Linked DNA regions of Homo sapiens: all the other regions are linked to region 1. The links are contacts of gene promoters, found by promoter capture Hi-C in blood cells and fetal thymus (Javierre and others, 2016). All regions are on one chromosome and are shown on one strand. Each heading gives the region's core, a stretch centred on a gene start or on the middle of the fragment in contact. The rest is flanking DNA. Distances are from core to core; before and after follow the strand shown. Region 1 holds the start of SPTY2D1 (SPT2 chromatin protein domain containing 1). Region 2 overlaps SAA2-SAA4 (SAA2-SAA4 readthrough). Region 3 has its middle 6.2 kb from the start of SAA1. Region 4 overlaps HPS5 (HPS5 biogenesis of lysosomal organelles complex 2 subunit 2). Region 5 overlaps HPS5 (HPS5 biogenesis of lysosomal organelles complex 2 subunit 2). Region 6 overlaps GTF2H1 (general transcription factor IIH subunit 1). Region 7 overlaps GTF2H1 (general transcription factor IIH subunit 1).

What was found. Contacts are between HindIII fragments. The CHiCAGO score rates a contact against its expected background, and 5 or more counts as called.
Region 2: a contact is called between a fragment that was not itself captured here and the fragment with the promoter of SPTY2D1 in region 1, in 5 of 17 cell types (total B cells, endothelial precursors, monocytes and 2 more). The highest score is 7.0, in total B cells.
Region 3: a contact is called between a fragment that was not itself captured here and the fragment with the promoter of SPTY2D1 in region 1, in 1 of 17 cell types (naive B cells). The highest score is 5.1, in naive B cells.
Region 4: a contact is called between a fragment that was not itself captured here and the fragment with the promoter of SPTY2D1 in region 1, in 4 of 17 cell types (total B cells, erythroblasts, naive B cells and 1 more). The highest score is 7.2, in total B cells.
Region 5: a contact is called between a fragment that was not itself captured here and the fragment with the promoter of SPTY2D1 in region 1, in 1 of 17 cell types (neutrophils). The highest score is 7.0, in neutrophils.
Region 6: a contact is called between a fragment that was not itself captured here and the fragment with the promoter of SPTY2D1 in region 1, in 2 of 17 cell types (neutrophils and naive CD8 T cells). The highest score is 8.1, in neutrophils.
Region 7: a fragment that was not itself captured here is called in contact with the fragment with the promoter of SPTY2D1 in region 1 in 1 of 17 cell types (neutrophils); the score reaches 5.5 in neutrophils.

The regions. Positions count from the first base shown.
Region 1 is chr11:18,632,463-18,636,749 of GRCh38, reverse strand. SPTY2D1 (SPT2 chromatin protein domain containing 1) reads left to right here and starts at 2,408. Exons shown (of 6, transcript NM_194285.3): 1 at 2,408-2,552. The coding sequence starts at 2,493. LOC105376578 (a long non-coding RNA gene) reads right to left here and starts at 2,401. Exons shown (of 2, transcript XR_931097.3): 1 at 1,789-2,401; 2 at 757-870. RefSeq lists an enhancer at 1,918-2,187 and a silencer at 3,244-3,423. The HindIII fragment of the contact is 3,460 bases long and covers 253-3,712 here.
Region 2 is chr11:18,240,831-18,245,117 of GRCh38, reverse strand. All of the region lies in intron 3 of SAA2-SAA4 (SAA2-SAA4 readthrough), which reads left to right. It also overlaps a transcript of SAA2 not described here. Among named protein-coding and RNA genes, the nearest start is that of SAA2, 5.7 kb to the left of the region's middle. RefSeq lists enhancers at 862-911, 1,042-1,336 and a silencer at 1,022-1,316. The HindIII fragment of the contact is 1,216 bases long and covers 1,824-3,039 here.
Region 3 is chr11:18,257,895-18,262,181 of GRCh38, reverse strand. It overlaps the pseudogene ST13P5. Among named protein-coding and RNA genes, the nearest start is that of SAA1, 6.2 kb to the left of the region's middle. The HindIII fragment of the contact is 2,255 bases long and covers 1,025-3,279 here.
Region 4 is chr11:18,279,485-18,283,771 of GRCh38, reverse strand. HPS5 (HPS5 biogenesis of lysosomal organelles complex 2 subunit 2) reads left to right here. Exons shown (of 23, transcript NM_181507.2): 22 at 1,552-1,822; 23 at 3,830-4,287. The coding sequence ends at 3,890. Among named protein-coding and RNA genes, the nearest start is that of SAA1, 15 kb to the right of the region's middle. RefSeq lists enhancers at 1,020-1,079, 1,120-1,179. The HindIII fragment of the contact is 671 bases long and covers 915-1,585 here.
Region 5 is chr11:18,296,853-18,301,139 of GRCh38, reverse strand. It overlaps HPS5 (HPS5 biogenesis of lysosomal organelles complex 2 subunit 2), which reads left to right. Exons shown (of 23, transcript NM_181507.2): 9 at 224-312; 10 at 2,170-2,348; 11 at 3,423-3,581; 12 at 4,156-4,287. Among named protein-coding and RNA genes, the nearest start is that of HPS5, 23 kb to the left of the region's middle. The HindIII fragment of the contact is 4,308 bases long and covers 1-3,935 here.
Region 6 is chr11:18,338,504-18,342,790 of GRCh38, reverse strand. GTF2H1 (general transcription factor IIH subunit 1) reads right to left here. Exons shown (of 15, transcript NM_005316.4): 5 at 3,134-3,227; 6 at 1,381-1,530; 7 at 1,184-1,263. Among named protein-coding and RNA genes, the nearest start is that of GTF2H1, 18 kb to the right of the region's middle. The HindIII fragment of the contact is 2,947 bases long and covers 114-3,060 here.
Region 7 is chr11:18,366,773-18,371,059 of GRCh38, reverse strand. It overlaps GTF2H1 (general transcription factor IIH subunit 1), which reads right to left. Exons shown (of 15, transcript NM_005316.4): 15 at 4,015-4,287. Among named protein-coding and RNA genes, the nearest start is that of MIR3159, 19 kb to the left of the region's middle. The HindIII fragment of the contact is 9,719 bases long and covers 1-4,287 here.

The sequences.
Region 1 (4,287 bases), core at 1,159-3,658:
ATACAGGAAAATTGCTCCTCTCATTCCTTACCTCATTCCCACCTCCAGCAGTTGTTCTTGATTTTGACTAACTAGGTATTAGTTACCTAATCCAAGCCCTTTTTTACATTATAACTCCATGTACATAGACTTGTACCAGTTCAAATGGGCTAACTGAAATATAGAGTCTGGTTTGGGTAATCTAAGGGTTCTAGTCTTGGCTCTCCGATTGACTAATGGTACAGTATAAGTCTAATTTCATCTCTTCAAGCTTCAGCTTTTCATCTATAAAACAGTAACAGGAAATGCCTTATACAACACTCATGATCAAGTCAGATAATCCATGTCAAGCACTAAGCATATAGTAATGGCTCAATGTATGCTAAGTACTACAATATTGAATCTTGGGAGCTTTCCACTTATCGATTCATTAATTTGGTCAAAAAATCTTTGTTGCAACTTTTATGTGCATTAGCAGGGAACTGTGCTGGTGATGGAAATAGTGATGGGTAAAATAGGCTTATGCCCATTTTCATAGCTCTGTCTATCACAGATATAGCCAATAGTTTAAAAAAAAAAAAGAACAAATATGTAATTACAAACTGTAAAATGTTGCATGAAGGGAAATACTGGGGGGCTGTAAGAATTTATAAAAGGGGCCCTGAGATAGCTCAGGAAGAGCTTCCTTGAGAAATGATGGTTGGCATTAATTGAAAACACCATATGCCAGTGTATTCGTTTGCTAGGGCTGCCAATAACAAAGTACCACAGACTAGGTGGCCTAAACAACAGACATTTATTGTCTTAACAATTCTGGTGGCTAGAATTCCATGATCAAGGTGTGGTTACCTTGAGGTCTCTCTCCTTGGTTTGTACATGGCTGTCTTCTCCCTGTGTTTTCACAAAACGATGTAGGAAAGAAAGGCTAATCTATAATCAGAGGAACAAACGCAGCTGCCTGTTATGTAGCTCAGGTTCCATAATAACATTCTTTTAAGGCGCAAAATAACTTAAAGTTCCAACAGCTTTGATTTTGAATTACGTTCGCAGCATTAAACCATCAAAGAGTAAGAGCCAGCAGCTTTGTCTAGCATGTTTTTTGTTTTTTTTTTTTGAGACGGAGTCTCGCTCTGTCGCCCAGGCTGGAGTGCAGTGGCGGGATCTCGGCTCACTGCAAGCTCCGCCTCCCGGGTTCACGCCATTCTCCTGCCTCAGCCTCCCAAGTAGCTGGGACTACAGGCGCCCGCCACTACGCCCGGCTAATTTTTTGTATTTTTAGTAGAGACGGGGTTTCACCGTTTTAGCCGGGATGGTCTCGATCTCCTGACCTCGTGATCCGCCCGCCTCGGCCTCCCAAAGTGCTGGGATTACAGGCGTGAGCCACCGCGCTCGGCCTGTCTAGCATGTTTTAACAGCTTGACATATTTACATACTGTATCATTCTCACCCGTCTTAAGTGTACGATTTTTAGTACATGTATAGTGCAACCATCCCCACAATCCAGTTTGGAGGCATTTCCATCCCACCGAAAAGATCCCGAGTACCTGTTTGCTATCAATCCCCTGGCGGGTTCCCACTTGCAGACCCAGGTTTGCCTAATTATTTTCAGTGTTTTTGCTAAGTCGAAATGACCTTACAGATCCAAGATAACTCTCCAAAAGAAGTCAGGACTAGGATCCCAATGAATATGAATATGAAGCATATGTTCATCAGTACACCAAAGTTATGTCAAGGCTGGGTCTGTATGTGAAATTCCTTAATCCATTGCCTGAGCAAAAACACAGGTTGGCTGCTCCACATAAAACTTACTTTCTAAACGGGGCAAAAGAAGTAAGCGCGTGCCCCCATCCCCGGCACGCGTGCATCTGAGTAGGAGGTAAGCGCACGGCATGTGGCCGAATTTGATGAGTAATGGGCATCCAAGACAGGACCACGGCGCTGCTGTGTGCGCCTGCGCAGCTTCGCGAGCGCCTAGACACAAGTAGCCCAAACCCCGGCTCGAGATCCGTCTGTTCAGCTGTTGTGGCGCCGCCGTTTTGGATCTAAGCGCCTACCCGTGACACCCAGAGAACCCAGGCCTGGCAAGTAAACCCTCTACCCCCTCACTTTCTCTACCCAGCGCTCACAAGGAGCAACAAGATGACAAGACCGCGCGCCCGGGCCACCAGGGAAGCCGCTCTCTCGCTTAGCCACACCCCCTTGGTTGCTAAAATGCCTAGTCCCTGCCCCTCGGGTCGACGCCAGCAGCCACGTATCACGTTTGTACGTGTCTCGGCCTAAAAGCGGAAGTTACGCAGGGACTCGCGAGCGCTGTGGCGGCCCTGAAAGGATATAGGCCGTGGAGGGAAGGGGGCGGGCAGACGGCATAGGAAGGCGCCGGAAGTGGTCCCGCAGAGGCGGGGTGGGAGTGGGGCTCCCGAGGCAGTGCAGTTGGCTGTAGCTGGGCGCCTCGGTTAGGTGCGCTGTCAGTCCTTTCCGAGTGCCTGGCCCAGTCTCTCCCGCCTCGGCCCAACATGGACTTCAGAGAAATTCTCATGATAGCTTCCAAGGGACAAGGTGTCAACAATGTGCCGGTAAGTAGCAGCTGGGGCATCAATGTAGGGGACCCTAGTCTTCCAAGTTCGGAATGTGTGTGGCCCATGGAACTTCTGGGCAGCCGCCTATCGGCTCCGGGAGAGGAAAGACCCGGACGCCTTATTTCCTTTTCTTGGGTTTATACTCTTGGGAACTCGGGAGAAAAGAGCTTGGGACGAGACGCGGGAGCCTTCCTGTGAATGGGTTTCGCCGGCTTATTTACCCCTGCAACAGGGACTTTGCGGTTTGGGTGTTGTAGCTAGAATTGCGTGAAAGCCGTGAGTGAGCTGTGCCTGGCACGCTGTGGATTCTAGCGCTGGTAGTTTTTGGCTTCCACATAAACTTCAGCCTAGAGATTGGGAAGGAAATATGTATGTAAGGGAGTTAGGGGGTTTGGGGTCCTTGGCTTGATAGCTTTTTGGCTGGCTTCTCATCGATCTTCAAGTCAAACGTTTAGCGATTTCTTGAAAGAATTCTCTGACTCGGCCCCACCCACTCAGCCACCGAGGTGATTAAATTATCACCTCCCAGGGGATAGGTATCATCTTTTGGGAAGAGAAGTTTAGCAGATTCCACGAAATCCTTGGCCAACAGAATAGGTGAGCTAGTTTCAGCTTCTGTTTACTTGTAGCCTTCCAGATTTCAGTCTTTGTTTAAAATCTAGGTCCCATTTGGTCAGTAGATGTTTGTCAGTTCGCTTACAGTCGCAAGAGCGGTGTAAGACTTAAATGGTAAAGTGGTGGAGAGCGCCTGGTTTCTGGGGGTTATGGCTGTTTTGCATAAGCTAATCATTTCCAGATTTTCAGATGGTACCCACAGCACAGCTGTAAACCGATAAGTTGCATGGTGATGCCTGCGGTTTGAGCAGTGAGGTATAGAACTAAAACGGCTCTCAAAGTCAATTCAGCTAGAATTTATTGAGCTCCGACGAAGTGCTCTGCATTTCCTAGATATTCGTATATTGCAATATTCGTTTTTTTCTCTTCTGCAGCTTTTTTTTGTCTTCTGAGGCTAGTTCATTCTTTTATCCCTTTGAAAATATTGATCTGAAAAAGGTCTATATTTATGTTTATAAATATATGTATATATACACACACACAGCCATCCCTTATCCCAAGAACTCTGAATAACCATTCCTCTAAGCCGTGAGTCATAAGCTTTGCATGTTGAAGGTATAGACTCAAACCTTTGAAACCCAGATCAACAGATTTACTTTCTAGAAGCATCTGTAAATTTTCCAGATGAATCAATATTGGGTCTAGTAACCATTCATCTTTGCATAATTTGGTCTGTATTTCATTCTAGATCTTATTGAATTTCAGTAAAGGTCAAAGATAGTACTAGCTTTGATGCCCAGTACTGTTCTGTGGAAGAATCAGAACTAAGTCATTTCTTATTCTGAAAGCCAGTAGCTGCTGGGAGAAAAGCAGACAGATAATCCTAAAGCAGAAAATTTCAAAATATGTGTATATGTCATAATATATGCATTATCTATGATTGGAATAACAGAAGAATCAAAAAGGGGAAAAAAGTAATTTAAAATTTAATAGATGGGCGCAATGGCTCAGGCCTGTAATCCCAGCACTTTGGGAGGCCTAGGCGGGAGAATCACCTGAAGTCAGGAGTTTGAGACCAGCCTGACAAATATGATGAAACCCCATCTCTACTAAAAATACAAAAATTAGCCGGGCATGGTGGTGTGCGCCTGTAATCCCAGCTACTTGGGAGGCTGAG
Region 2 (4,287 bases), core at 1,182-3,681, 390 kb after region 1:
ATTCTTAGTAGTCACAGTGCAGACACCTGCATCAACCCTTCCACAAATTAGACCTCCTTTTTTCCAGACCTTTGTGGTTACATTGTTGCTATTTCCAGTCCCTTCCTTGCCCAGGCTTCTCATCTCCTGTGAATTATTTCCTGTTACCTTCTCTGTCCCTCAGTTCTTCATTCCTCAGTGATCTCTGTTTCTGGAGGCAGGGGCTACAGACAATTGAATTGTGAAGTCCTGCCTCAGCGACTGCCACCCGAGTCTTCCTTTCATTTCTCAGCAACACCTACAAATCCAGGCATTAATGAATTTCTACCCACTCCATCTAAAAAATACCTCCAATGCAGTTCTCTTCCACTCTATTTTCATTGCCTTCTTTCAAGTCTAAATATGTAATGCGACTCCTTTTATGAATGTTTTCTGAGTTTCTGGAGCTTAACTAGATCAAAGTTGTGGAAGTGGTGGCAGTGGAGAGAGAGCCAGATAGAGAAGAACTGTTTTATCAGTCAGGGTCCCTTTGGGAGACAGAAACCAGGCAGTAATTTGAAAAGGGAAATTTTAATATAAAGAATTATTAACTGAGAGCAGCATTAACTTCTAAGAGTACAGAATATGAGAAGGTATAAATTTGAGATTGGGCCCCTCACAAGACTGACATTGGATGGCAAATAGTTTACTGGGTCCTTCAAGCCAAAACTGACATATAAGAACTCCATTGAGGTATTAATGAAACTTGGCAGGAAGCTACCCAGGGTGTAACTTAACTCTGGGAATGCAGCTAGGGTTCCTGTGACAAATTTGGGAAACTGCTTGGGGGCAGGAGATAGGTTATCAAAACCCCTGGGAAGCCAGCTGTGGAAGTGGCAGTGCTCTGGAGTGAACTGTATCTTGCCAAAATGTATATGTTGAAACCCCAACTCACAGCATGGCTGTACTATTTTGTTACAGCAGCCCAAGCTGATTAAAATAAGTGGGCTGCTGGTAAACATCATGGACATCCTACTGAGGTGCCACAGAAATTGTCAGGAAACTGTCTTGGCCTTGGGATGCCACTCAGATCTCTGGGGCAAGTGCCACTGGTTGTCCTGTACAGGAGAAGAGTACTGCAGGAGCTGAAAGGAAGCAAAGCACAAAAGAACAGGAAAAGATGTCTTCATCTCCTGCTTGGCCCTCTAGCGCCCTCTATGGGTGAAGATTAACATCATGCCCAACTGGCAAAGGAGAAATGTTCACAGGGTCCAGCTCCAGCATCACAAATAGGACAAAGGGGTGGGTGTGGAGCTGAAAATAAAGAAACTGATAACTGGCATACCCCTTTTCTCTGAAAAAGGATTGAGGAGGACTCCTAAGGTGAGAAGACTAGTTATAAAATTATATTTACAGAGTAAAGACAAATTTATTTGTCAAGGAGGAAGAAAATGTATGGATATAAAGTAGAACTATTTACAACAGAACTTTCTCATACAGTTCTCATCAAAAGACACTAATAGAAGTGTAGGTATAGGAGGTATAGGAGGTTTGAGTCTGAGTCTCAAAGATGTGCCAATGCCAAAACAAGGCAAGGGCAAGATAAATAAGATGGAGAGAGGCGTGGAAGATTGGCTCATGGGAGCAGACTCAATGCACTGTTGAGATTAGTGTTCAGTCTAGTAAAGTCTGAGTTGACCCCAAGTTGTAAAAAAAGACTGTAATGCTATTATTACAATAGCAATTGTAAATGCTTACAATTAGATTTCTGTCACAAGTACTGAAGTTGTAGATTTTGGGGGGCAGGAGGGAGAGAAAGGGAGGATGAGAGAAAGAATGGCTTTCAAAGTCAAATAAAGCAAGCTTTCAAAGTCTAGTCTTTGTAGATATTCAAAACTTTGCAATCAACATATTATTACTAGAAATAATTAACTGAAGCAACATTTGGATACAGAAATTCATTCATCCGTCTGTAAAGGACCAAATCACTCCCCTTCTTGAAATCTATAATTTGAAAAAAAATTTAATTCAATATAGTCCATAGGTTCAGAGGAAGAAAAAGTATAAAAAAAACAAGAAAAAAATTTTTAAATCGAAATTTGTATCCAAGGAAAAAGGTGCTTGGTTTACCCAGGAATTTATAATTTGTAAAGTCACACCTAATACCTATGCTCTGGCACACCCAAATACCTTTTATTAATTACTTGGTTTTCCTCAGTAAGAATTAACATGCTTCTCTCTGTTAGAAAAGTTTGAGAAAGGGAAATTGCATTGCTCTTTGTTATAGTTGTGTTTTGTTTTGTTTCGTTATTTGAGACAGCATCTCCCTCTTTCATCCAGGCTGAAGTGCCATGGCATGATCATGGCTCACTGCAACCTCGACCTCCCGGGGCTCAAGAGATCCTCCCACTTCAGCCTCTTGAATAACTGGGACTGCAGATGTGCGCCATGACACTTGCCTAATTTTTATATTTTTTGTAGAGATGGGGTTTCGCCGTGTCACCCAGGCTGGTCTTGAACTCCTGGGCTCAAGTGATCTGCCTGCCTCAGCCTCCCAAAGTGCTGGGATTACAGGCATGAGTCACTGAGCCCAGCCTACTGTTATATTTATTTTTGTGTCGGTTTGAGGCTGCCCAGATTCACATTGTTTCTGGGGTCGTCTGTGAGGGTGTTTCCAGAGGAGATTAACATTTGAATTGGACTTAATAAAGTAGATTGCTATTCTCAATGCAACTGGGCATCACCCAATCTGTTGAAGGCTTGAATAGAACAAAAATAGAGGAAGGACAGATTTGCCTCCCTTTTCCCCTGCCTCACTGCTTGAGTTGGACATCTCCTCTCATCTTCTCTTGCCCTCAAATTGGATTTACGTGATCAGTTGCTCTGGTTCTCAGGCCTTTGAACTCAGACTGAATTACACTTTCCTGAGTTTCTAGCTTGCAGAGGGCAGATCGTGGGACTTCTCAGCCCCAATTATCTTGTGAGCCAATTCCTTACAATAAATAAATACATACATACATACACAAATAAATTATTTGTCCTGTGTCTCTCAAGAACCCTGACTAATAGGGTATCCAAGCTTTTCAGTCTTATCTCCTATGACTAATTAATGTGCCTCATGCTACATGCAAATTGAGCTGCTTGTTATTTTTAAACATGTCATTGAATTAGGAATTATTTCAAACGTTCAGAAATGTGCTTCCATGTGTTCATTCAGCATTTATTATTGTTATTTAAAATATTCATTCATTTATTTATTTATAGATTTAGGGGGTACAAGTACAGATTTGTTACACTGATAGATTGCATAATGGTGAAATCTGGGTTCTTAGTGTAACCATCACCCAAGTAGAGTTCATTGTACCTGTCAGGTAATTTCTCAATCCTCGGCCCCCTTCTGCCCTCCATCTTTCTGAGTCTCCAGTGTCCATTATTCCACTTTCTATGTCCATGTGTACACATTATTTAGCTCCCATTTATAAGTGCGAAAATGTGATATTTGACTTTCTGGGTTATTTCACTTAAGATAATGGCCTCTAGTTCTATCTATGTTGCAGCAAAAGATACGATTTCATTCTTTTTAATGGCTGAATAGTATTCTATGGTGTATATATGTGTATACAGACATACACACACACCCCTCCAATCATTCGTTGATTAACCTAAGACACTTAGGTTAATCCCATATTTTTGCTACTGTGAATAATAGTGTTGTGATAAATACATGCATTCAGGTATATTTTTTATATAATGATCTATTTTCCTTTGGGTAGTACCCAGTAATGGGACTGCTGGGTCAAATGGTAGCTCTATTTTTAGTTCTCTGGGAAATCTCCATACTGCTTTCCACAGAGGCTGTACTAATTGACATTCCCATGAGCAGTGTATAAGCATTCCCTTTTCTCCACATCCTCACCAACATCTGTTGTTTTTTTGACATTTTAGTAATAGCCATTCTGATTGTGTGAGATGGTATCTCATTGTGGTTTTAATTTGTGATTAAATTTGTGTTTAAATTTGTGACTCTGATGATTAGTGATGTTGAGCATTTGTTCATATTTTGTTGGCCATTTGTATGTTTTCTTTTGAAAAATACCTGTTCATGTCCTTTGCCCGCTTTTTAATGGGGTTATTTCCTTTTTTCTTGTTGTCTGAGTTCCTTGTAGAATCTTGGTACTTGTCCTTTGTCAGATGAGTAGTTTGCAAATATTTTCTCCCGTTCTTAGGTTGTCTGTTTACTCTGTTGGCTATTTCTTTTGTTGTGCAGAAGTTTTTAGTTTAGTTTAGTCCTGCTTGTGTATATATTTTTTTGCTGCATTTGCTTTTGAG
Region 3 (4,287 bases), core at 903-3,402, 370 kb after region 1:
TCCTCCACCTTCTTACTATCAGGTTTTTCTTCCTTGGTATTTTCTTCTGATTTAGCCTTCTGAGTAGCAGGTGGTACTTTACCTCCCATGCTCTCCACCCACTCTCTCAGGAAGCGCATTTCCTCGGTGTGCAGAACGCTCGGATCCTGCTTACACATTTTCACAAAGGCCCGAAGCTCGTTCACTTTGCAGGGGTCCATGGTAGGGAGGTGGTGGGTGAAGCTGGGGGCTGCGGCCCAGTTCCAGGCCCAGGTGCTGGCTCGGCATGACCGCGCAGAAGGGGGCGGCTGCCGCGAGTGAACATGGACATTGTTAATATGCAATAAAATCTCAGCCTACTTGAAATGTTTACATTAATTGTCAAAAAACATATTCAGAAGGCAAACCCTTATCATCTCTCCGCTGCTCCCAGAGAGATGTTATTAGGCATCACCTTCTGGGTTATGATGGCTTCTTAACTGGCTTCCACATTTCCCCCTTTGCCGCCAACTAGTCTCTTTTCAGTATAGCAGCCAGACTGTTACAACACAAGACAACTTCTATCACTCTCCATTCAAAACTCTCCGGAGGATTCCACTTCCACTCATAGTTGAAGTCAAAGCCCTTATAATGGTTTTCAAACTTTACTCAAACTGTCCTAACTCCTTCCTCTCGTACCTCATCATCCAATTCTCTCCTCCTGCTCATTTTGCTCTGGCCACACTGGTCTCCAAACCCCCAGGCACATCTTACCCTAGGGGCCTCGGATTAGCTGTTCCTTTCCTCTGGAACATTCTTTTCCCAGATATTTGCATATCAGGGCTTTGAGGGGGCCTTGATCCGGGAATGCAGGATACTGGAAGGTTCAACAATACAGTTATTGTCAATAAGAGTATTGGCAGTGAATGTGTTGGAAAGAGGGCCGTAAATGAACTGTGAAAATTTTCCATGAAGATGGGAGAGGACTGGAGAGTTTTGTCAATGAATACAATAAAGAGGTACTTTGTCTCCAAACATCACTAAGCAGATTGTCTACACAGAAGCTTCTAGTGGGTATTTCTAGGCTGGGCACGGTGGCTCACACCTGTAATCCCAACACTTTTGGGGGCGGAGGCGGAGGATGGGTTAAGGTCAGGAGTTTGAGACCAGCCCGAGCAACATAGTGAGACTCCATTTCTACAAAAAATTAACAATTAGCTGGGCATGGTGGCACACTCCTGTTGTCCTCACTACTTGGGAGGCTGAGGCAGGAAGATCACTTGAGCCCAGGAGTTTGAGGTTACAATGAGCTATGATTCCACCATTGCACTCTAGCCTGGCAACAGAGCGAGACTCTTGTCTCAAAAAAAAAAAAAAAATGCAGATTCCTAAGCCATAATCTTGGAGGTCTTGGTCTCAGTTCAGCGAGTTGGGGGTGATCTTCAGGAATCAGTGTTTGAAAATCTTCCTGTTTGGAAATCACTTGTGCAGATAACATTAGTAAGACTGGAGAGAAGGTGGTAATGAATTTATCAGGGACTTCAAAGAGGACACATCACAGAGGTGAAGAATGGAGAAATGGTCATGGAAAGCAAAGAGGACGAGGACCCCTCTTTCTCATTCTATTGTCTAGGAGGAATTGCAGGAGGCATACCCCATGGGTAAAGATGAGAATAAAGTGAAATCAACATGGGAAAGGCAGGTTTCAAGTTTTTGTAATGGGAAGGAAATAGGCAGAGATAAAGGGGCATCCTCACCGCAGACCCTTCTTTCGAGGAGCTCACTGGAAGGTAGTAGAAGAAGGGTGGGCAGAGTGTTGGGAGAGTTGAGGCTGACTCATAGAGAAATTAGTTGGTGTGACGTGAAAGCAGGGAGATGAGAAGAGTAAAGGGCATGGCAGTTGAGCGTGCTGGTTAGTGACAGCAGATTGGGATTCTTTATTGCTTCCGGGCTCAGTGTGGGGTGCTGTGCTATGGGGGGCTGATACTTATGAGCCAGTGGAACTACTCCCCAAAGGTCAAGTGGACTAAAATAAAAACAGTGAGGATGCCTTTCTGATCTTCTCCCAACCATGCTGAAGTCCTGAAGAGAATGGAAGTTAGCAGAAAGTTCTGGAGAGAATGAAGGGACAAGGGAGGAGGGGAAGGAAACAGTGGCTAGTGAAGGTAGGCAAGGAGTACTCTCAACACATGCTTAATATGAAACATTTATCAGCAAGAAACTAGTTTTTAAAGCTGACACACAGCATTCAAACTTGGAGGCCACAGGCCTCACAGGGCAGGTCTTCTACTTTTTGAGATCTCTAATTACTGGATCCAAACTTTCTCCCTGGGAAAGGGTAATTTGTTTTTGTATGAATTCATCTTTTATAGAGTCACAGCCAGTCCCTTCTTTCTAACATGTACACCACATCTCCTAGGCACGACTGTCTTTTGCTCATTAAGAAAAAACTCTGCCTCCAAACTCCTATCAGATGGAGAAGCTGCAGAGAAGATAAATGGCTTATTCAAGGACCAGAACCCAGGACACTCATGATACCTTGGCCAGTGCTCTTTCTTCTCCACCTCCTTGCCTCCATCCCTTAACAAATGTTCTTTTCTGGGAACTTGGACACCCCTTGAAAAGATGAGGAGTGGTTTATGGTAATTCCAGGTTGGATTATTTGGTTTGGGAGAATGCCATTGGTCACAGCAATCTCAGCTCCTGGCAGCAGAAACCTGAACTTTGTCTCTATTCCATTTTGCCATGGTTATCTCTAACAGAAAGTCCTGTTATGCAACACCAGAATACCTTCCCAGTAGAGGTTGTGACACTGAGTTCCCATTACAGATCCTAAAACCCAGCCACCTAGACTTGGAGGCAGTATGGCTGCAAGTTAAGAGCCAAGCCCTGGTTTCAGACAGACCTGGTATGACCTTGCCTCTGCCATATACTGATATTGTGGAAGAGCACTTAATGACCTGGAGAAGTATCTCTTAAGGGAAAGAGTGCAATAGAATATGATCCCATTTTTGTTCAAAGACATGTTCCCATGGTGAAACACAACCTAGGAAGTTTTACATCTGTGTTTCTAGGTAGTGCCAACAGCTTGTGTTATTCTAGATTTTTAGAATTTTTTACAATGACATGTCCATTTATTTATTGATTCATCATCAGTCATTATCCATTCACGCATCGAGTGCCTTCTATGCAGCAGATACTACAATAGATATTGGGCATACAATGAGGGGAGATGGCGGCTAACCAGGTCTAGGCTGTGCCTCCATGAAAAAGAGACTTATACTTGGGGAAAAATGATTATACATGTGTAGACATAAAGCTTATACTTATAATAAATCAGTAAGATTCCAATAAATAAATGGGAAAAATATGTGTACAAAAAGTATAATGAAAGAAAAGAGAAAGCAAGGGGTATCACTAATCATTCTAAGATTGTTTCTCCTTAAGAACAACAGTCCCCAGGTACTAATATCATTGCTCATTCCTACCATCTCTTATTAAAATAAATAAAATAAGAAATGGCTCAGCTGTCAAAAGGTCTCCTGCCACTTTACAGAAGTAAAGCCAGGCCATGGGCTATGGATTACCAGGAGGGCAGGAGAAAAGATTCCCTCCTGTTTCTTCCACTTAGCAAGTGAATCACCAGGAACACAAAAGGACCAACTATTTAATTCAGGGGCGGACTCTTTTTCTTTTTCTTTTTCTTTTTTTTTTTGAGATGGAGTCTCGCTCTGTCGCCCAGGCTGGAGTGCAGTGGCGCGATCTCGGCTCACTGCAAGCTCCACCTCCCGGGTTCACACCATTCTCCTGCCTCAGCCTCCCGAGTAGCTGGGACCACAGGCGCCCGCCACCACGCCCGGCTAATTTTTTTGTATTTTTAGTAGAGACAGGGTTTCACTGTGTTAGCCAGGATGGTCTTGATCTCCTGACCTCGTGATCCACCCGCCTCGGCCTCCCAAAGTGCTGGGATTACAGGCGTGAGCCCCTGCGCCCCGCTGAGGGGTGGACTCTTAATTGTGTTTGCTGTGTGTCGCTTCTCACAAAGCCCACACTCTCTCATGGAGAGAGAACCCTTTTCTCCTGGCTCAGAGTTTCCAAGTTGCATTCTCTAGGCACCAGAATCCAAACCTGTCTGCATTGAGTTCTGCGTCTCTTCCCCTATAGGTTGTTGGCTGAGGCTCACGCCTCCCTGAAGCCTGCTGGCCTCTAAGTGATGACTGAATCAGGTTATGAAGGACTCGCAGCGGGGGCATGTTGGGATTTGGTCATCAGCCCACTGTCGGCAACAGCAAGAGCCACTCTCAGAGTCTGAAACTGGTATTGCCAAAG
Region 4 (4,287 bases), core at 1-2,500, 350 kb after region 1:
TCTTGGTTGTCAATTTTTAGAAGTTACTCCAGACCTCTCAACAAAAAAATTTGGTGAACCTTTCAATGATCATATATTTAATATGTGATTCCACTTAGTTGTCACATTTGTGGAGTTTTTGTTTTTGTTTTTGTTTTTTACCTATAGCCCTTGATATGTTATGAAATCACAATTAAGAATAAACTATAGGCAACTTTTCTATTTCATGAGTGCCTACTATGTGTTAGGCACTATACTGTGTGCTTTCCATATGTTGTTTTAAATGAGATAACAAACTCTGGGGATAGTTACTATTATTTCCACTTTCCAGATAACTGAGGTACAGAAGGGACAGTTAATTGGCCCAAAGTCACACAGCTACTAATTGTAAATGCTGGAGCTGGGGTTCAGACCAAGGACTTCCTCCAAAATTTGTGCTTAGGCTCTTTTTTTTTTTTTTTTTTAATTTCCCATTAATTAAAGATGATTCTGGCCAGGCGCGGTGGCTCACGCTTGTAATTCCAGCACTTTCAGAGGCCGAGGTGGGCAGATCACCTGAGGTCGGGAGTTTGAGACCAGCCTGGCCAACATGGTGAAACCCCATCTCTACTAAAAATACAAAAATTAACTGGGCATGGTGGCTTATGCTTGTAATCCCAGCTACTTGAGAGGCTGAGGCAGGAGAATTGCTTGAACCTGGGAGGTGGAGGTTGCAGTGAGCTGAGATCGCACCACTGCACTCCAGCTTGGGCAACAGAGCAAGACTTGGTCTCAAAACAAAAAGGAAAAGAAAAATTCCTTGAATTCGTCAAGTTCTTTCCTGTGTCACATTGTCTTCCATGTTTCCTTTATCAGAAATGCAGGCCCCTTATTTCTGATGGCTCCTACTCCAAGTTTTCACATTATGTGGGCCCCATGCATATGTCCTCTAAGCTTGTCTCATCTTTTAGCTTTCTGCTTCAATGTCACTTCCTCATAGAGCCCTTCTCAGATCTTCCAGGCAGAATCAGCCATTCTCTCTGATGCTTCCTTGTTCTTTTTTTTCATAGTGCTTAGCATACTTTATAAGTATATACTTACGTGTTTAAGTTTTGTCTCCTATACTAGACTGTAGGCTCCACAAGAGTACAGGGATTGTGTCTCTTCTGTTCATCATTACATATCCAGTGCTTAGCATAGGATATGCCCTGGGTAATTACTGAGTGGTTGAAAGAATTCTGAAGCTGCCCAGGTGTGGTAGCTCATGCCTGTAATCCCAGCACTTTGGGAGGCTGCGGTGGGAGGCTTGCTTGAGCTCAGGAGTTTAAGACCAGCCTGGGCAACATGGTAGTGAGACCCTGTCTCTCTTTAAAAAAAAAAAAGAAAAAAATTAAAGTTAATTTTGTGGCTTCTCTTTCTCATGAACAATTTATACAACAAATTTTCAGAAAACAACTTGTGTTAGGGTGATGAGATTGTGTTCTTGAATATTTTTACGTTTTGGCATTAAACATTTTCACAGTTTTGACCATCTCCTGTATCCAGTCAGTGTGCTAAGAGTGGTCAAACTGACACTTCCCTGTGTGTGTTTAGGTTGGATCCCAGAGACCGTGGAGGAATGGAAGCTTCTCCTTCATCTCATACAGAGCAAGAGCACGAGGCCAGCCCCCCAGGAGTCACTAAATGGGAGCCTCAGTGATGGGCCTTCCCCCATCAATGTGGAGAATGTGGCACTTCTGTTAGCTAAGGCCATGGGCCCAGATCGGGCTTGGTCACTGCTACAGGAATGTGGTCTGGCCCTTGAGTTGTCAGAGAAGTTTACCAGAACCTGCGATATCCTGAGGATTGCTGAGAAAAGGCAGAGGTAATATCAGTTTGTCCTACCCTCTGCATAGTGCTTGGAGAAGGTAGAAGGCCACAGACTTTCAGATGTAGATGTGGAGATCATTTAGTCCCGACCCATCACTAACATGAGGAGACTGAGACTGATGTGGTAATTAAGGGAAGAGGCTAAAGTAATATTTCATTCACAGCCATGACCAAGATGCTGTTCAGATTAACCTGAATAATCTGATGTGTCCTTGATTCTTTAAAAATATTACTGGTACCAGGCTGGTCGTGGTGGTTCACGCCTGTAATCCTTGCACTTTGTGAGGCCGAGGTGGGCGGATCATGAGGTCAAGAGATTGAGACCATCCTGGCAACATGGTGAAACCCCATCTCTACTAAAAAAAAAAAGTACAAAAATTAGCTGGGTGTGGTGGCACGTGCCTGTAGTCCCAGCTACTTGGGAGGCTGAGGCAGGAGAATCGCTTGAACTCGGAAGGTGGAGGTTGCAGTGAGCCAAGAACATGACACTGTACTCTAGCCTGGTGACAGAGCGAGACTCCATCTCAAAAACAAAAAAATTACTGGTACCTGGCTGGGTACGGTGGCTTATGCCTGTAATCCCAGTACTTGGGGAGGCTGAGGCAGGTGGATAACCTGAGGTCAGGAGTTCGAGACCAGCCTAACCAATATGGTGAAACCCTGTCTCTACTAAAAAAAAAAAAAAAAAATGCAAAAAAATTAACTGGACATGGTGGCAGACACTTGTAATTCCCAGCTACTCGGGAAGCTGAGGCAGGAGAATCGCTTGAACTCAGCAGGCAGAGATTGCAGTGAGCCAAGATCACGCCATTGCACTCCACCCTGGGCAACAAGAGCAAAACTCTGAAAAAAAAAAAAAAAATTACTGGTACCAGATACCTAATGTCTCAGTAATTTTTTTTTGTGGTATAATACACATAAAATTTATCATCTTAACAATTTAAAAATATTCAGCTCAGTGGTATTAAGTTATTCATATTGTTTTGCATCCAGTCTCTAGAACTTTTTCATTTTGCAAAACTGAAACTCCACACCCATTAAACAGCAACTTACTTCCTCTACCTAGCCCCTGGCAACCACAGTTCTACTTTCTGTTTTTATTAATTTTACTATTCTACATACCTCATCTCAGTGGAATTAATACATTTGTCGTTTTGTGACCAGCCTGTTTTCACTGAGCATAGCATCCTAAAGGTTTATCCATGTTGTAGCATGTGTCAGGATTTCCTTTCTACTTAAGGCTGAATAATATTCCGTTGTATATATATGCCACCTTTTGTTTATCCATTCATCTGTTGACAGACACTTGAATTGCTTCCACTTTCTGGCTATTGTGAATAACGCTGCTATGAATATGAGTATACAAATATGTCTTCCAGACACTGCTTTCAGTTCTTTCGGGTATATACCTGAAAGTGGAATTCTGGAATCATATGGTAATTCTATTTTTAATTTTTTGAGGAACCACCATACTGTTCTGTAGAGACTGCACCATTTTACTTTCCTGCCAGCAGTGCACAAGAGTTCCAATTTCTCCATGTGCTAGCCCCACACTTGTCATTTTCTGTTGTTGTTTTTTGTTAAACAGTAGCTATCCCAGTGGGTGTCAGGTACTATATATCTCATTGTGGTTTTGATTTGCATTTTTCTAATGATTAGAGATGTTGAGCATTTTTTCATATGCTTATTGACCATTTATATAATTGTCTTTGGAGAAATAGCTATTCAAGTCCTTTGCCCATGTTGAATCAGGTTGGGTGTTTTCGTTGTTGTTGCTGTAAGAGTTCTCTGATATTCTGGATATTAACCTCTTATCAGATACATGATTTGCAAATATTTTCTTCCATTCTGTAGGTTGCCTTTTCACTCTGTGCATTGTGTCTTTTAATGCACAGAATCAGTCAACTTTTTGAATCCTCTGAAACTCTGTAGTTTTTAAGTTTTCTGTGAAGAATGAACAATGACAACTAAATTTGCTTGTTTCTTTTCTTTGGGATTTCAGGGCCTTGATACAAAGCATGCTTGAAAAATGCGATCGGTTTCTCTGGTCCCAGCAGGCCTAGTGGGAGAAGATTCAGCAGGATGTCATGACATTTTGAGAAAAACTAAATCATGCTCCTGAACCTTCTGAACGCATTTGTTATTGAAGGAAAGACACCACCCCCAAATCCTGCCATCTTATTGGGGCTACTTTTGTCAGTGTCTGTACCCTTGGCATCGGCATCTGTGACTCTTTATCCATGACCTCAGTGTTTCTTAACCAAAGTTGTACTCAGCATTTCTTAACCAAAGTTGAATTTTGAAAAGAGTCAGTCCTTGTTTGCTGGAATTAGAATGTTAATGTCCTAGTATTATTCCGAACTACAGTATTAACTGCTTGTTGCTAGTGGATTAGACAGATTCTTTTCTTACTGTGGCTTCCATGTTGGGAGCAGAAGCTTTTCATCCTGGTCACATGAA
Region 5 (4,287 bases), core at 532-3,031, 330 kb after region 1:
TGTGTCTGAATTTTCCCAATTTGGCATCATTTTATGCTATTTATTAGTGGGCTGTTGTTACAGACAGAAAGGAGTTGTTAGGACTCGATTAGCTGGATCACTCTTGTGTTTTCTTTGTACAGTTTGATTTTACTTTAATAGCTAATGCAAGGATCTGAATTCGGGGAATTATAAACTTTTGTATCCTAGCACACTTGAATTCTCTTCACTTCTTCTCTTGCAGTGAGCATTGTGTGCTGACTTGGACAGAAAGAGGAATTTATATTTTCATTCCTCAGAATGTTCAAGTTCTTCTTTGGAGTGAAGTCAAAGGTAATTATATTTTTCTTTGTAATTTTTAATCTCATGCTTATGAAAATTTGATTATTGTAGGAGCATTCTCTTGTAATTTAAGAAGTTGAAAAATAGGATGGGATGACTTTTTTTTTTTTTTTTTTTTTTTTGAGACTAAGTCTTGCTCTGTCACCCAGGCTGGAGTGCACTGGTGCGATCTTGGCTCACGGAAACCTCCACCTCCTGGGTTCAAGTGATTCTCCTGCCTCAGCCTCCTGAGTAGCTGGGATTACAGGCACGCACCACCACACCTGGCTAATTTTTGTATTTTTAGTAGAGATGGAGTTTCGCCATGTTGGCCAGGCTGGTCTCGAATTCCTGACCTCAGGTGATCTGCCGGCCTCAGCCTCCCAAAGTTCTGGGATTACAAACATGTATGATTACAGGTGTGAGCCACCGTGCCCAGTTACGTTTCTTTTAAAGATTGACCATAGATATTTCCCATTGTAAGTTACTTCCCAAACATGCATTAGTGAATTTGCATTCAGCTATTTATTTTTTCATGAGTCATTTTATTTATTTTTTAATTGACACATAATAATTGTACATATTTATGGGGTACATAAATATGTACCCCATAATATGTTTCGATACATGCAGTGTATAGTGTACCCTGATCAGATCAGGGTGGTTAGCATATCTACCATGTTAAACATTTATTAGCTCTTCATGTTGGGAACATTCATTGTCCTTCTAGCTCTTTGAAAACAGACATTATTATTAACTATAGTCATCCTACAATGCTATGGAACAGTAGAATTTATTCCTCCTATCTAGCTATAATTTTGTATCCTTTAACAAGTCTTTTCCCTGTCTTCTCCTTCCTCTTACCCTTCCCAGAATCTAGTCACCTCTGTTCTGCTTTTTTACTTCTGTGAGATCACATTTTTCTAGCTTCTGCATATAAATGAGAACATGTGGTCTTTAACTTTCTGTTCCTAGCTTATTTCACTTAACATAGTGTCTTCCAGTTTTCATGAGTAATTTTAAGTGCAGTTTTCATTAGTAACTGCTGAAAAGGAACAAACAGGTTATTTTTCCCTCTATTGCCCTGAGTCTTTATCCCTGCCAGAAGTCTTACTTTGACTCCCATTTTGTATCTTTATAGTTTGGGGTTCAAATTGTTCTTGTGGGAGCAACAGCCATCATATGTGACTGAGACAGAAAATCAATCTCTATATTCTTTGGGTTAAAACCAGAAGTGGGGGAAATCTAGCTTTTTTACCATTGCTGCTCAGTAGAGAGTGTTATGTTGACTTTTTGGTTCTTTTTCTATGTTTGTAAAAACCAAAAAAGGAGAGAGAGAAAGAAATCATTACTTACTGGTCTCATCAACAGTGACTTTCTTGTGGCTTAAATTTCTTAAGTATGTCCCTTGAAAAGTAGTCTTTTAAGTCCTTTCAGGATACTCTGCCAAGACAGATATTTTCTTGAAGGCAGATATTTTCTCATGAACTGTATATTGATTTACATACTATGTTAAAATCCATTCATTGAGGACCAGGTTGTAACACTCGAACCTTATAGTCTGGCCTCTAATGTAGATTATCCTCTTTTAATGTCCCAATTCCTTTTCACAGAAAACAGCATTTTTAAACATAAGACTTTAGGTCAGAGAGATATAGTTCTTTCTTCACATCTTTTATTCTTGATCTTTTTAGAATAGTTTCTAAAATATGATTTCTTCATTGAACTGCAAGTAGAAAAATAGAGATGAAATTCAGTCAAGCCAAACCCTACGTAAGAAATGAATTTATTAGAATAATTGCATCCCTTTTAAAATTGTAAGGGGTATTTGGTTAACATTTTGTATGTTCACACCTGTGGTTTTCGTAGATATTCAGGATGTGGCTGTCTGTAGGAATGAATTGTTCTGTTTGCACCTAAATGGGAAAGTCTCACATCTCTCCCTGATATCTGTGGAGCGCTGTGTGGAACGCCTGCTAAGAAGAGGCCTATGGAACTTGGCTGCTCGTACATGCTGTCTTTTCCAAAATTCTGTCATTGCCAGCAGAGTGAGTCAGAGCTTACCTAGACATCTTTACCATGGATTGGTGAAACTCTCCTACCTTGCAAGATTGTGTTACAAAGTTGCTTGATTTTATTAACCCTGTCTGTGTGACCTACAGATACAGCAATACATGCCCAGAGAAAGCATGATAGATATATCTAGGGGTGGATAGAGGGTAAGAAAGAGGGTACAATTTTCATTTAAAACATCAAATTTACATACAAATTTGTTTCAGAACTTGTTTTTAAGGGGGATAATTGCGTATATGGTAAATTTTAATTAAATTATTATTATTATTATTTTGAGACAGTCTCGCTCTGTCACCCAGGCTGGAGTGCAGTGGCGCAATCTCGGCCCACTGCAACCTCTGCCTCCTGGGTTCAAGCAATTCGCGTGTCTCAGCCTCCTGAGTAGCTGCGACTACAGGCGCTCGCCACCACACCTAGCTGATTTTTTTTGTATTTTTAGTAGAGACGGGGTTTCACCGTGTTGGCCAGGCTGATCTCGAACTCCTGACCTCAAGTGATCCGCCCACTTTGGCCTCCCAAAGTGTGGGATTACAGGTATCAGCCACCACACATGGCCTTAAATTCTTAATTCCTAAGAAAATTCTCATTAAATCTTTCTCCAGCTTGCTAAGCCTTTTTAAAGCACCATTGAAGTTTTATGTTCTATATTAGACTTATTTCTTTTTTCTTTTTTTTTTTTTTGAGATGAAGTCTCACTCTTGTCCCCCAGGCTGGAGTGGAGTGCAATGGCGTGATCTCAGCTCACTGCAACCTCTGCCTCCCAGGTTCAAATGATTCTCCTGCCTCAGCCTCCCGAGTAGCTGGGATTACAGATGCCTGCCCCCATGCCCAGCTAATTTTTGTATTTTTAGTAGAGACGGGGTTTCACCATGTTGGCCAGGCTTGTCTTGAACTCCTGACCTCGGGGGATCTGCCCGCCTCGGCCTCCCAGAGTGCTGGGATTACAGGCGTGAGCCACCGTGCCCGGCCTAGACCTCTTTCAATATATTGGCCATTTGAATATAGATTTACCTACAAATAGCTATTCCATTGCGCTGTTGTTTTATTAGGCAAGAAAAACTTTGACTGCAGATAAATTGGAGCATTTGAAATCTCAGCTGGACCATGGCACCTACAATGATCTAATTTCTCAACTGGAAGAATTGATCTTAAAATTTGAACCTTTGGATTCAGCTTGTAGCAGTAGAAGAAGCTCCATTTCATCACATGTAAGTATTCTCACCTTTAAAGGATTTTGTAGGGTAAGATTTTTCCATCTTCGGTTGTTCTTATTTACCTCTAGGATCCCCAAATTTGTTGTCCTTTCCATTTATGTTTTTTGGTGGGAAGGGGTGAACTTTTGTTCAGCTAGTGGCTCAGCTCTGTGAAGCCTCCATTTAGGTGTGTCTTGGAGCCACATTTTGTTTTGTCATTGTTTATTATTTTTTGTTCCCTGATATACTCATATAGCTCCCAGCATAAGTTACGTTGCTCTAATATGTGATTTTAGGTGCTTCATGCTAATTTGAGCCTGAATGCAGGTCTGGATTATCTCATTTAATCCCCATTCTCACTACCAAGCTTTATGAAGACAAGCTAGAGAAATATGGCAGCTGATGCCACTAGCACACGGAGTGACCCAGCTGCCAGGCACCTAAGCCTTGCTCATCAGTTTGTTCTAATAAGCCATAATGGTTGTTATTAACTTTCTATTTGAGTGTTGGTATTTCTCTGCAGAAGTTATATTAACGTTATAAAGGAAATTTTTACCTTTTTTTTTTTTTGAATTCTTTTAATTTTTAGGAAAGTTTCAGCATCTTGGACTCTGGTATTTATCGTATCATTAGTAGTAGAAGAGGCAGTCAGTCAGATGAAGACTCTTGCTCCCTTCACAGCCAAACCCTCTCAGAAGATGAGAGATTTAAAGAATTCACC
Region 6 (4,287 bases), core at 338-2,837, 290 kb after region 1:
TAAAGTTACAAATGTACATGTACAATATGCCATCATGTTTATTTTAAAGAAAAAAAAAGCACTAAAAAAGTCTTCCTTTCATACTAAGTTGTAAGTCTAAGCGCCACTAAGCTTTATTTTCTCAGGATAATTAAAGAGGGCCATGTTTGTATAGATTCTTCTTCACTTCTGAAAGGGTGATGTCCTGAAAAACTCACTGTATGATCAAAGTATAAATTGAAAATACACTGGCTGGGCGTGGTGGCTCATGACTGTAATCCCAGCACTTTGGGAGGCCAAGGTGGGCAGATCACCTGAGGTAAGGAGTTTGAGACCAGCCTGGCCAACGTGGCAAAACCCTGTCTCTACTAAAAATACAAAAATTAACTGGGTGTGGTGGCACGTGCCTGTAATTCCAGCTACTTGGGAGGCTGAGGCAGGAGAATGGCTTTAACTTGGGAGGCAGAGGTTGCAGTGAGCCAAGATTGCGCCACTGCACTCCAGCCTGGGCAACAGAGTGAAACTCTTTCTCAAAAAAAAAAAAAAAAAAAAAAAAAAAGAGACAGAAAAAGAAGAAAAATAAGAGCAAGAAAATGAAAACTCAGAGTAAAGGGAATAACTGAGGAAGACAAGTTCTGGCCTAGAAGACAGAGGCAGTGATAAAATTATCCTTGATCACAACAGGAACCATCTCTTTCTCTGCAAGTAGATAAATCTGTAGGTCTGGGGTCATGATGCTGAGGTAGGTAGGTCATACATGATGGCCTACTTGCTGAAACATTGGGGTTGGCATGGTATAAGGGTCATGAGAGTGCTTAAGGTTTGGCAGATAGTAAGCAATCAACAAATGTTTGTTATCTTCCTTATTTATTAATTTATCCATATTTCTTTAGATTAAATGTTAGCTAGAGCATAAAGCTGAACTCATCACATTAAGCCTTTATTATTACTAGAGAACTGCGGATGAGGGAGCTAGAAATTTATTTTTAAAAGGTTTTAGCAACTCACACAGGAATTTCATTTCTTCTAGGCAATTTTAATGGCAAACAACGCTATTTCAAAGCACTTCCGATAAATCACTTCAAGTAACAGTATTTTGCTTATTTGACATTCTCACAAGTGGAATAGGTCTACTACGCTTAAGACAATGTTGAAGACTAGGAAAAGACTCTTTTCTCTCAAAACTTCTTTTATTGCTTCTTACCTCATCTAATGGTTTATCTTCCAAAGCTGTTAAATCTAGTAGTGGGTTTTTCACTCCTAATGAAACCATTGTTTTTAGGCCTAGAAAATCAACAAAATAAAAAGTTCAGCATGTCTTATCTGTCTCAGAAATTAACACTTATAATGTCTAGAGGGTGGCAAGTTAAATACCAGTGTCTATCAGAGATAAACAGTTACCTTTTTCATCTATTTTGGCACATTCTGCAAAGAGATCCTTTGACCCTGTATTCAGCCGATCCCTGTGAAAATAATGGGACTGGAAAAAACGTGTCCAGAATTCCTTCTCTGTCATGTTGTGGGGAACATTTTCTGCATATTTCATTTTTACTGTGGAAAAAAACCCACAAATATTATATACTGAATTTCCATTTTTAAAACCTCTCAAATTAGGTAACTGAAATACAAATAGCAAAATCTAGACCATAAAGCTCTCAACTCTACATACTATAAGTTATAATCTAATTATAAATATGAAGGGTAACTTGAGAGATTAGGTGAGGTATGACCTCTATAAATCTTACAAATTACAAACAAAACCTTATTTGCACCAAAAGAATAAGGTTTTGAAGTTTTAGTAGAAATACCAAGAATCTCAGGAGTCAGAGCTGAGTCTGCTTGTTTGCTCATTTATATATGTGCACTCTCAATCCAAGGCACTGTGTTAGCTTGTGGGGTAATAATGATCTCAATATCCACTGGACTGTCAGCTCAGCACTCCAGCGGCTTACACACTAGCAAGCATAGAGTTCAACAGCATTGTTTGCTGAGCTCTGAGTTTAAAATTCCAGGTCTGCCACTTTCTATCTGTGTGACCCTGAGCAAATTACTTAATCTTTCTGCACCCTGGTTTCCTCATCTGTAAAATGAGGGTCATAACAGTACCTCTACTTCATAGGTTTACGTGATGATTAAATCAGTTACTATAGAAAAAGAACTTAGAAAAGCGTCTGGCACATAATAAACACTACACAATTATGTTACCATCAGAAAGATACAAAAGAGCCAGATGCTGTGGCTCAAGCCTGTAATCTCAGCACTTTGGGAGGCTGAGGCGGGCAGATCACTTGAGGTCAGGAATTCAAGACCAGCCTGGCCAACAGGGTGAAACCCCATCTCTACAAAAAATACAAAAAGTAGCTTGGCGTGGTGGCACGTGCCTGTAGTCCCAGCTACTTGGGAGGCGGAGGCAGTAGAATCACTTGAGCCTGGGAGGCGGAGGTTGCAGTGAGCCAAGATCGCGCCACTGCACTCCAGCCTGGTTGACAGAGCAAGACTCTGTCTCAATTAAAAAAAAAAAAAGAGATAGGGTCTTGTTTTGTTGCCCAGGCTAGTCTTGAACCCCTTGCTTCAAGGGATCCTCTTGCCTCAGCCTCCTGAAGTGTTGGGATTACAGGCGTGAGCCACTGGGACTGGCCAGGATTTCATAGAGGTGGCAAGGAGGTGATGCTTGAGCTGAGTCCTGAGAGAGAGATTCCTAAGGGACTAAAGGGGTAAGAGTGGGGAAGAGGGAAGCGAGAACAGAATACAGCTTAAGAGAGTACTGCTTAGTCAGAAGAATGACTGACACACTGGCTCTCATCCTTGTCTACACATAATAAATCACTGAGGCTGGGGTCAAGGAATCTATACTTTTAGGATGGCATCTGCACGGGAAGTAATTTGTGGGTTAGGAAGGTCACTCTGGATGCAGAATGAAGAATGATCTGAGTTAGTAGTACAGACAGACTCGAATGGCAGTCATATTAGTGAACTGATGACAACACATTATTTACTGAGCCCCTAGTATCTACCATATGTCAGGCACTGGGTAAAAAGTACTTTACATAATTTATTGCACTTGATCAGGAATCTGAAGCTTTTTGTTTTTCACTGATATACTATAGAATATATCCATATATTTTAACCATCTGAAAGAACTGATTCTTCTTACCTGCTGGATAGGTCCTAAATATGGACTCAATGATATCAGAAGTTAAATTATATCTTAGACCGTTACAGCCATCAGTTTGGGGCCGGACATCAGCCTAAAACAAAGCCCATACACACATACACGTTAGAGCATCAGGGAAAGATGGCTCAGGTCCCAGTGGACACTGGACAAAGGTGGAAAAAAAAATTTCTGAACTAACTGCATAGACAGAGAAAGTCCCTCACCTTCACTTTTTGCACAGAGGCAGGACTCAAAAAAGCCTGACTGGTTTCTCACGGTCTTAAGTGACCTATAAAATCTGCTCCTTTGGAAGTCTAATATGGTCAAATAGGCATGTTTAAGTATGAAGGCAGAGAGGCAGTGGAGCTTTAAGATAAAACTTGTATAGTCATAAAAATCACTACAAACCTTGGTTAGTAAATAATTAAATTAACATTAACTGACTGACTTCTTTGGGAAAGGCCTTATTAATTCACTTCACTAATAAACATCCAAAAAAGATACCAAACATACAAATAGTATTCAAAATTTTGTTGAATGTGTTAATACTATTCTGGTTCCACTAGAATACCAACTGACTGAATTCCATTCCATAATTCCACAGATAAGGTATTCCCAATTGTTCTAATATAGTTTACAAATCTTACATTTTCTATAATATGGTCATGATACATTTAACCTTGTATTGTAAGTAAAATATGGCAAAGGTTTAAAAAGGCAGCAGAAAGCCCTACATTTGAAAATATTTGAAAAAGTAAGTATTAGTCCAAACTCTGAAAGAGTCATTTTCAAATTCCATTTGACTACCAGCATGCTAGGGTCAAGTCCAAAGGCCAAGAAAACATAACTGGTAAAAAGAAATATAAATTTAAAAAAAATTATATGTATTTTAAAAACATTTTGGAAGAGGGCTGAGTGTGATAGCTCATACTTGTAATCCCAGAGCTTTGGGAGGCTAAGATGGGAGGAACTCTTGAGGCCAGGGATTTGAGACCAGCCTGGGAAATACAAAAAGAGCTGCCCCCCGCCCTATAAAAATAAGAAAATTTAGCCAGGCAAGGTGGTGCACACCTCTAGTCCCAGCTACTTGAGAGGCTGAAGCAGGAGGATCGCTTAAGCCCAGGAGTTTGAGGCTGCAGGGAGCTATCACTGTG
Region 7 (4,287 bases), core at 1,272-3,771, 270 kb after region 1:
AGGTGGCCGGGCATGATGGCTCATGCCTGTAATCCCAGCACTTTGGGAGGCTGAAGCAGGCGGATCAGAAGGAGGTCAGAAGTTCAAGACCAGCCTGGCCAACATGGCAAAACCCCGTCTCCACTAAAAATACAAAAATTAGCCGGGCATGGTGGCGGGTGCCTGTAATCCCAGCTACTTGGGAGGCTGAAGCACGAGAATCACTTGAACCCAGGAAGCAGAGGTTGCAGTGAGCCGAGATGGTGCCACTGCATTCCATCCTGGGTGACAGAGCAAGACTCCACCTCAAAAAAAAAAAAAAAGACAAAAGAAAAAGGAAAAGAATAACCATGTGTCAGAAACAGATACAAATGGGTAGGACCAAAATTTACAAGAATTTGGCAGAAATAGGATCACTAATGGATTCTTCTCTAAGGATATGAGCCCCTTTGTTAAGGATTATCTTTTTATTCATTTATTTAGAGACGGGGTCTTGCTCTGTTGCCCAGGCTGGAGTGCAGTGCCGTGAACACAGCTCATTGCGGCCTGAACCCCCCAGGCTCAAGCTATCTTCCCATCTCAATCTCCTGTCTCCTGAGTGGCTGGGACCACAGGCACATGCCACCATGCCAGGCTAATTTTTTTTTTTTTTTTTTTTTTTTTTGTATAAAGGGGGTTTCACCATGTTGCCCAGCCTGGTTTTGAACTCCTGGGCTCAAGGGATCCATCCACCTTGGCCTCCCAAAGTGCTGGGATCACAGGTGTGAGCCACCATGCCCGGTCATTTTCTAACTTTTAAAAATTAAAAAAAAAAAAATTAAGAGGCAGGGTCTAGCTGTCATCCAGGCTGGAGTGCAGTGGCATGATCATAGCTCACTGCAACCTCAAACTCCTGGGCCCAAGTGATTCTCCTGCCTACCTCCTGACTACAGGTGCATTCCACCATGCCTAACTAAAAGGATTATCTTAAAGGGCATGTTCAGGTGCACAGGTATCTCTTTGTTAGAAAAATCTCAGGTTGCAGGTTAGAAAAGAATTTAAGGGCATAGACAAATGTCCAGAAGAAGATGCACTGACCATCACCTCAGGAAAGACTTGGAAGTAAGGGTACAGAGACACTTTCTATTTTATATACTTCAGCACTATTCAAAACTCAGGGAAAAAAAAACCCCACGAATTATGTTTTCACTATATGTATTGCACACACACACATATATATAGCATGCACACACACACACACACACATATGTAACTCCACCCAGGATGGAAAGAAAGTCAGTAGTGGCCACGAGATGACAAGATTTCCAGTCTCTTCTGTGACTTTAATATACACCCAAACAAGGAGATGGACTACTAACTCAGGCTGGTCACTCCTGAACCAGGTTCCAGGCAATACTCCAGTTCTGGACATTTTAATAGCTGAAAATAACTAAGACTCCCCTGGCCTCAAGAACTGGGAGAACAGCTGAGTCTTGAGGGAGCTAAATTGGGAAAGGGCAGAGGTAATCCTAAGGAATCCCATGCAAGTCTTGACACTGGAGACAGCAAACCTAAGTTTGAAACACACAGCTTTCCATTCCAGACACTGTCAGCTCTAGAAAGATGGTATATGCAACAGGAAATCACTTTCTGGATTAAACTCTTCAGACTCGATGAGTGGGGTTACCTTTCTAGTTACAGATGTTAAAACATTCTTTTGTTTTCCATCCTGAAGTGGATTTTACAAGGTACCTCACCCACTTTGTAGTATGTCTAAAGCAGACTAACACTACTGACTTTTTTTTTGAGATGGAGTTTCGCTCTTGTTGCCCAGGCTGGAGCAGAGTGGCTTGATCTCGGCTCGACACAGCCTCCACTTCCCAGGTTCAAGCGATTCTCCTGCCTCAGCCTCTTGAGTAGTTGGGATTACAGGTGCCTGCCACCACGCCTGACTAATTTTTTGTATTTTTAGTAGAGATGGGGTTTCGCCATGTTGGGTAGGCTGGTCTCGAATTCCTGACCTCAGGTGATCCACCCGCCTCGGCCTCCCAAAGTGCTGGGATTACAGGTGTGAGCCACTGCGCTAGGCCACTACTGACTTTCTTTCCAGAAAAGACTCATTCTCCTAAGGCAGGACATGCTGTTGTTACATTATTACATTTTATAGCCCTCAGGGCCTACTAGGCAGACTAATCCCATGATGCGATTTGCCACAAGTAAAGCACAGAATAGAGTCAGGCAGGAATGACAAAGGAGTCAAAGGAAAAACTAGGCAATGGAAGCCTGGGCTGCGGAATAACAACTTGCAACTTCACAGACATCTCATCCCTTCTCCAGACTAGAGAAGCCTTAGGGTAAATCCTAGCTCTGACACTTACTAGCTGTGTGAATTTGGGTAAATTACTTAACCTCTAAACCATTTCTAATCTGTACAAAATCTTGTAGTATCTACTTGCTTCTTCAGTTGTGGGAAGGGAGATACAGCAGAAAAAGTGTTTGGCACAATGCTGGTTTACAGCAGCCCTCAACCATCAGTGGTGCTATTATTTTCCGCAAGAAGGTGAAGGGCCATAAAAGGCCTATACAGCTGCTGAAGTTCATTGCTAAAGGTATCCAAGGCTCAAATATTTCAAGTGCAAGCTAGACATGAAATTCACAGCTATCTCTGTGAATCACCCTTGATTCCTTCACTCCCTGTGAGTTAGTCACATACACTGTAGAAATGCTGTTACTCAGGCCCTTCCTATTTACCAGGACTTCATTTTAATGTAGACGCTTTCCTGTGTGGTTTGTTCAGAAAGTCTTCTAAATCTGTCCTAATTGCCAAGTTATTTAACCCCTGCCTAACCCCCCACCACCAGAAAACCCCCCCATAAAAGCAACTTGCTTAAAACTTTCTCTCAAGTCTCCCATGCCTAGTAGGTAAGGTCTGAGTATTTTACTTTAGCATACAAGGCCATTCACAACCTGAATTAACATGGTTTTCTGAGCCTTACTTGTCACTTCCAACTCTCCAATCTAACACATCTTTCCTGTTCTTCTAACATATTTCAGTCTTTCAAACCTTCTCATCATCATGCTCTTCCCTCAGTCTAGAAGAGATGACTTTCTTCTCTACCTCACAAAATCCTACTCAACCTTCAAGACTTAGCTAAAACGCTCTTTTAAATGAAGTCTTTCCTTCAGGCTTTATATATATATATATATATATATATATATATTTTTTTTTTTTTTTTTTTTTTTTTTGAGACAGGGCTTTGTCTTACTGTCCAGGCTGTAGTGCAGTGGTGTGATCATAGCTCATTGCAGCCTCAATCTCCTGGGCTCATGCAATCCTCCCGCCTCGGCCTCCAGAGCAGCTGGAACTACAAGCACATACCACCACGCCCAGCTAACTTTTTTTACTTTTAGTAGAGATGAGGTTTTGCTATGTTGCCCAGGCTGGTCTTGAATTCCTGAGCTCAAGTGATCCTCTTGCCTTGGCCTCCCAAAGTGCTGGATTACAGGTATGACTCACCATGCCCAGCTTACAACTTAATTTTCAACACAGCACTCAACAGAACATTCTATTTCTTATGTCTGCCTTGCCCAATAGCCACTTTTTTTTATTTCAATCATTTTTCTATTTGCCCCACTGTAGCAGTAACACATTTGAAAGTACTTTGTGAAAGTGTAAATTTTAAGGGATTATACCAGTACATATACTGATCTGAAAGAGAAATGGGAAGACTGAAGGCAGAAAATGATGTGGCTTCTTTCCCTTTACCAGTTCAAGGTCTTCATAAATTTTTCTTTTTTTTTCTGTAAAAAAAGAGATGGAGTCTCACTATGTTGCTCAGTCTGGACTTTTGAACTTCTGGGCTCAAGTGATCCTCCTACCTCAGCCTCCCAAGTAGCTGGAACTACAGGCATGTGCTACCATGCCTGGCTTAGATTCTGACCTTAGCAGTCATTATATGAAGGATAACCAGTTTGTAACATGGCCTAAAATAAAATGAACAGTTCTCAGGCAGCCCACCCAAGGAAATTCACACATAATGAGAAACCAGAGATGTGTTAGAGTTAAAAGGGTAAGTATAAAAAGTTTTACTTTTTTTGTGTAATTTTTAATACAAGACATCTAAAGTCTTAAACATTAAGTTGATCCCATCAGGAACAAAATATGGCACGAAGTTCAGAAACAAGAACATCTTTTTTTTTTTTTTTTGCACTTAGGCTTTTCAGTCACTATGCAATGATTATCGATTCGCCAAGGACAGTAACAGTCAAATACTAGAGAAAAGGAGATAGGAGAAACATCTTTTATTTCTTCTAAAGAGGTGAAAATAA